2 separate regions of the Homo sapiens genome follow, and region 2 is linked to region 1. Evidence: promoter capture Hi-C in 16 types of primary human blood cells and fetal thymus (Javierre and others, 2016). All regions are on one chromosome and are shown on one strand. The core of a region is centred on a gene start or on the middle of the fragment in contact, and the rest is flanking DNA. Distances in the headings are between cores, read along the strand shown. Region 1 holds the start of RDH11 (retinol dehydrogenase 11). Region 2 overlaps MAX (MYC associated factor X).

Evidence for each region. Contacts are between HindIII fragments. The CHiCAGO score rates a contact against its expected background, and 5 or more counts as called.
Region 2: a fragment that was not itself captured here is called in contact with the fragment with the promoter of RDH11 in region 1 in 1 of 17 cell types (fetal thymus); the score reaches 5.7 in fetal thymus.

The regions. Positions count from the first base shown.
Region 1 is chr14:67,694,225-67,697,559 of GRCh38, forward strand. It overlaps RDH11 (retinol dehydrogenase 11), which reads right to left and starts at 1,540. Exons shown (of 7, transcript NM_016026.4): 1 at 1,406-1,540. The coding sequence starts at 1,479. It also overlaps a transcript of GPHN not described here. RefSeq lists a silencer at 648-707 and enhancers at 1,057-1,693, 1,738-1,787, 1,808-1,857. The HindIII fragment of the contact is 2,925 bases long and covers 1,328-3,335 here.
Region 2 is chr14:65,097,406-65,100,740 of GRCh38, forward strand. All of the region lies in intron 2 of MAX (MYC associated factor X), which reads right to left. Among named protein-coding and RNA genes, the nearest start is that of MAX, 3.4 kb to the right of the region's middle. The HindIII fragment of the contact is 750 bases long and covers 1,345-2,094 here.

The sequences.
Region 1 (3,335 bases), core at 290-2,789:
AAACCATCACCTCCCTCCTCAGAAAACAAGCCTCTAGGCTGTTTCCCACATCCCCTTACTGTATGTAGCTCCAGGAGTGACAACTTAGTAGGACCTGTACTTAGTTCTTTCTTCTCCTTAACCAGCAGGAATGAAAGAGACAACTATAAAAGTCCAGCTCTGGCCCGACTCCCATAACCCTGCTGAGTTGGGAATACAGCTCCTGGAATATATATATATATATATATACACACACACACACATATATATATATACACACACACACATATATATATATATATACACACATATATTTTTTTTTTTTCCAGAAAAATCCCTCTGGGGTATGAGCACTATTTTCAGTTCTGGTTCAACTTTTCATTGAGATTCTATGTGGATAAGAGGATCTTGTAGTGAAAAAAAGATAAAAAGCAGTGTTTTCATCTGAGTGTGAGAAACCATGTGTGCCTAGAGGTGGGAGAACTGAGTGTTCAGAAGGCAGAAAAAATATAACTGGAAGAGGGGCACCAGAGAAGGAAGAGAAAATAAAAATAAAAGAAGGAAAGTAGGTGACTGTGGTAAGAAATGACTGTGATCTGGCCTGGCTTCAAGTTCTATTGGGACTAAGACCGCCCACCTGGGGAAGGAGTGTGTCTGTCTATTCAGTCACTGGTCCGTCACCACTGGTGATTTACTTAGAACCAATAAGCAGGCTGCCGGTTTTACAGCCCGCTGCTGATTCACTGGGGCACTTGGCCAGCCTTGGGCTGATTGATCTATCACCTGGTCAATACCTTCCCACCATTCTCCCAGCCCTCACCGCCCCAGTACCCTAGCTCCTAACTCAGATCCCCCGTGCTCCTGCTCGCAAGGCAGGATAGAGCTCATAACCAAACACTCTTCCTTTTCACTTTTCTCCTTTACAACATCCGCCCACAGAACAAGCGATTGTAACAGCAACGAGAGAGCAAGGATGGGGCCGCAGATGTTACGATTGCTATCAGTTTCAGAGGGCGAAATGTGGAATCGCTCCTTTGTACCTCGAAGGCTGGTTTAAGGCGTGGGGAATAAGGGGAAAACAGCGTCGGGCCATATCCCATTGAAGAGTCCGAAACTCAAGCGTTTGAGGTAGCCTTACCCTCGGGATTCCCTGGAGCCAGAATCAGGGGGTGCTTAGACAAAAGAAAAACAGGCCAGGGAAAAGCAGTGTGCCCCGGACTGCCGCCCTTTCTCACCGCCTGGGGTCTCGGGTGTCCTCCTGGCACCCAGGACAGCTGGACCTCGCCTCCAACCCACCGAACTCTGGGCTCCGCCATCTTGGAGCCCCCCCAGGGGAGTTTTCCAAGAAAGCTTTGGTGGGGATTCTATGTTTCCCTCCCGCCCCGCAACAAGAATTCTCAAGAGAAGGCAATACATTTGCACAGACCTGATTTGGGGCGCAGCCATATACAGAAGGAAGGGCAGAAGGAGGAGCAACAGCGGGAACATGAGCTCAACCATCTCTGCCGGCTGCAGCGGCACCAGAGCGGGATGCTCCAGCGTTGCTCGCCGACTATGGCTTCTCTTTCTAGACACGCCCCAATTCAAATTGCGACAGCCCGGGGAGCAGACCTTCTGGGAAATGTAGTCCAGAGCTTGACAGCCTCAGGCTGGCTACGTGGGAGCGCTGCCGCCAACGCTGGCAGAAGTTGAATTATACATCGCTAATCCCCAACCATCTAGGGCTTAGGGCCTGTGGGATCATTCACCCAGCTCTCAGTTATTTTTTCTGCCTTCTGAATACTCAGTTCTCCCACCTCTAGGCACACATGGTTTCTCACACTCAGATGAAAACACTGCTTTTTATCTTTTTTTCACTACAAGATCCTCTTATCCACATAGAATCTCAATGAAAAGTTGAACCAGAACTGAAAATAGTGCTCATACCCCAGAGGGATTTTTCTGGAAAAAAAAAAGTATACACTATAGGAATAGTACACTTATTCCTATAGTGTACTAGGCACCGCGGTGTTTGTGAAATCTCTGCAGTCCTCTATCTCCCCAGACCCAAGTCCAGTGCCTGGTTCAGTTTTCCCCAATCCTGGTTAGGCAGTTACCGCACTGTTTCTCCTGGAGATCAGATGTTGGCGTCTGGGAAATGAAAGGCGGATTAGACAGGAGAGGAGCGGTCCGAAGTCTGACAGTTGGGAAGGTGGGGGAATGTAAACCCTTCCTCCTCGAGGATTCCTTTTTCCAGAGAAGAGGAAGCAATAAGTCCTTGAAGACATTCTCAGGAGAATCACTTTATTGTGTCTATCTTGAATTATGGTGGCAACTATCATGATTTTTCTAGTGTTTGAGTGTTCATTGATAATAGAATATCGTCTTCCTGATGGCTTGGGTCACATACATTAACTCCCAGGGTAGCAATGAATATCTCAGATTGGCACAGTTGGTTTTGCCAACTCGTGAAAGTATTTAATCCTGTCTTGAATTAAGGCCATGAATATGTTCTCTGTGAATAAATAGGTTCCCTGTTCAATAGTTTCTTTCATCTGAGGCCTATTTCCTGGGGGTGAAAGTGGAGGGTGTTTTAACCAATCAATATCTGTCTGTGATTCCTTAATTGTACCCAGTAATATTTTCTGGTCCTTTTGCATAATTTCCATTTGGTTAAAAGACACGGGTTCCAATGAACTAATATATTTTATAGCAAATTGGAGAAGAGAGGGTTTCCTTCACACAATACTAATTCCTACCAATTTAACATTAGATTACCTAGCAATCATCACATTTTGTCACATTCTCATTATTGTGTTACCTAATATTTGTATTGGGTTTTATAACTTTATAAAAGCCTTTCATTTGTTTTGTTCCTTATTCAGTCATTCACGCATTTGACAAACATTTATGGCATTCCTATAGTGTACTAGGCACTGTGCTGATGTCCAGCAGGAAGCCAGGAACACATAATCTCTGCTCGCCCGGAGTTCATGGACTGTCAGAGAAGACCTTAAATAAGTAATCACTGTAAATAAATCATGGTGAAGGTTATGAGGAGGATTAGAGAAAGCTCTGGGAGCTTTTACAAGGGAGAGGAGTTCTAGATCAGGAGAGGCTTATTTGAGGAAATAACATTTGAGCGGAGGCCAGAGGGAAGTTAGTAGGCAAGCAACATAGACAAGAGTGTGCTGAGCAGAGGAAAGACCCCACCTGAGGGTTCACAGTCAGAGAAAGCAGGGTGCACTAGAGCAACAGAAAACCGTCTAGGGAGAAGGGAGAGTGCCAGAAATGGCAATAATAGCCAGTGCTTAAATACTGCTTAATTATGGCCAGGCCCTGTCCCAATGATTTATATATATATATTAACTCTTAAT
Region 2 (3,335 bases), core at 470-2,969, 2.6 Mb before region 1:
TTCTAGGCAAATAGCACGGGGAAATAAATGCTTCATTATTCCAGGATGCACAAGGTTCTCCAGAACAATGCCATGTCTTACAGGCTACCTGACAGCTAACCCCACCTATAAGGGGAACCATCTCAATTCTAATACAGAAAATTCTCAGCATATAGGGAATTAGTTGCCCACTCAATATTTACTACCTTTACAAAATGTGAAGGTTGTATTTTAGAGGGAAGCTTGTGTTGCTTATGATTCTTATCAAGCTATTCTTATTAGAGACTAAGGACACGAGAATACACAGACCCAAAAATCTCATCCGAAAAGATCTATTTCTTACTTCTGATAGATAAGAACAAGATAGGATAAAGCTCAATTTCTAAGCAACTTAAAATATTCATTTTAATCAACCCAAAAATTATAACATAAAATAATAGGCAGGTAGGATGGGATAAACTCACCAAGCTCCCTAAGAGAAAGACATGGATTTCAATTTTCCAATACCTGTCCTGCTTGTAGCTGATTGCCTGGTATACATTTCCAACATTATCTAATGTATGTATTTGTTTTCAAACTTTTTTCTTTTGGTGCCTAAAATAACTGGCAAATGCTATAATCCAAACAGGGCCTCATACTATAGCCATTTCAGAGAAGGATGCCTTGGTCAGGAAATTTTAATTAAAAACCAAGCTGAATTCTTTGACCAACTATTTCACCGTTACTGGCATCTTGGAAAAATTCTTTTAGACATAAGAACAACTTTTACCCTAACACAGGCACATTTAGGAACTAACTCTGGCATTTGTTATCACTGTAAGCATCACTGTCAACACTCTAAGCAGAGAAAAAGTACATGCATTGTGCAGCACTTTTGCCATGCAACTGACTGCAGGTAAAACAGACAGTAGTTTCCTGAGTGAATTCCAATCTCGGAGGCTACCAAGCTCGTTCTCTTCTGAATATTCCTAAAGAAGCAAAGAGCTCTGAGAAGTTAAAAATATTTCATGCCAGAAAGGTCCAGAAGTGGAATTGCACAAATCTGTTTTCAAACCCCTCACAAGTATACTGCAACTGCAACTCAGTCAGGTGCCATCAAGGATGGTCACTGGAAAAAAAATTGCATTTCCTGACCAACACACTAACCCATACATTTCCTGTATACTTACACTCTTTCCTAAAGAAATTTCCCAAACAGAAATAAAGCAAAAGGAAGCCCTTGCAATATAATATACCTGTCCCACAAATTTATCTTTAAAATGCAACCTCTTCCCTCCAAAATATAATAAAAATAACATCAGTGGGATTTTGCGATGTACTGAATTTAGTAGTAAGAATACTCTTTGGGGTTACTTCCTTTAACAAAGCTTACTGGCCATTGGAGAAGCTGTTTTCCGTTTGTACTGAAGCAATAGAAAAAAATATTTGCCAAATCAGTTTCACTTTCTGTTAGAGTTAGCCTAACTTCCTAACTCTCTTCTCAGTATCTTACATTTCTCATGTAGTAAGGCCTATATATTGTAGTGACATTATAAAACATACATGAATGTTTTTATATTAGGATCCACAGAACCCTTTTCAAATAACTTTTTCAACATCTTCTGTAGTCCTGAATACCTAAGTATTTGGTTGTTCACAGTCCACATCTTTTTTTAAACCTTTTTTCTAAGGCAAAACTTAAGAATAGCTCCCTCTTAAATTTTAAAAAATATATTTATTATCCATATTAAATATTGAGAAGTAAGCAGATGCATTCACAGAGGGGAAAAAATGGAATCCTTTTTACCCTACACAGTCACAATAGTTGTTTGATATACTATAAAATTTGTTTATAACATATCTGCTTTTTCTCTCCATGCTGTTGTAATTACATTGTGCAGAGTAATATTTAGAAATATCAACAAATAGATGTGTTAAATTAAAAACAAAGTGTCAAACCAACTTCCTTTGCCTACCCCCAAAATCAAAAGGAAAAATCCTAGGCACCTTAACAGCAAACTAAAAACATCTAGACAAAACAATGAGATTAGCATTCCAGGAAAGCAGAAACATTATAATAATTTAATAACAAATTTATATCAACGATCATATGGATGAAAATTTTGAAAAGCAGAAAGCTTTCAAGAACTGCGAGCCAAAATTTCACCAAAAAAACAAACAAACAAACAAACAAACAAAAAAAACACAACTTTCTCTTACTGGGAAGTCAGTATAATTTCAATTCAAAGGATAATTCTGCAAAGGAAGGCTAAACGATCCTTACCCTCCAGCTCTGATCAAGCCCTAGCACAGATTTTACAACTGGAGACTTGCAGGGAAAAAAAAAGTTTTCAACAGACTAGGCCCCAAACATGAAGGATAAAAGTAAATGTGAAAAAGGAATTCAATTTTCAAATATATGCATAAGTATATGAGAATACTTCAAGGATAAATAAAATAAAACAAATTATCTTTAATGACTATTACCCAGGGATAATTTTTAAGACTTTTGGAACAACTACATCCCCGGATTTTATGGAAATATCAGCTCTCAATAAATAAGTTTTCTTAATGCCTATCTGCTTAGACAACCTGCACAATCTTTGCTTGCTCTAATGAAGAGCAGGTATAACTGAGATGGCTTGCCTTTACCCTGTGGTTATCAAGTTCTTATACCAGAGGTATCAAAGTGACATCCTGCAAATTCTAACAAGCCCCCAAACAGTTGTTCCACACATCATTTTAAAAATCAGAAAAATAACATAAAGTTTTAGATTTCTAATCTTTCTTAAAAAATAGGAAGATCGGCTGGGCGTGGTGGCTCATGCCTGTAATCCCAGCACTTTGGGAGGCCGAGGCTGGCAGATCACGAGGTTAAGAGATCGAGACCAGCCTGGCCAACATGGTGAAACCCCGTCTCTACTAAAAATACAAAAATTAGCTGGGTGTGGTGGCACGCGCCTGTAGTCCCAGCTATTCGGGAGGCTGAGGCAAGAGAATCGCTTGAACCCAGGAGGCGGAGGTTGCAGTAAGCCGAGATAGCGCCATTGCACTCCAGCCTGGTGACAGAGTGAGACTCTGTCTCAAAAATAAATAAATAAAATAAAATTAAAAATAGGAAGATCTGGCAATACTGACCCTTCACTCCTACTAACAAACCACTGGAGTTCAGTAGTGCTGACTTTTTAGAAGAGGCACTGCTCTCCAGTACCCAAGCCCTCACCTCTTCCTTCTTTATTCTTTATGGCCCTCATGGGCATTTGAACTTTTTACCCCCATTCTATACATTTCTTACTGCTCCCAACTATCAAATATTAGACACTCTGATATACTTATTTCTCTTCCCCTCGCTGATTCTGATTTATTCTGTGTGTATT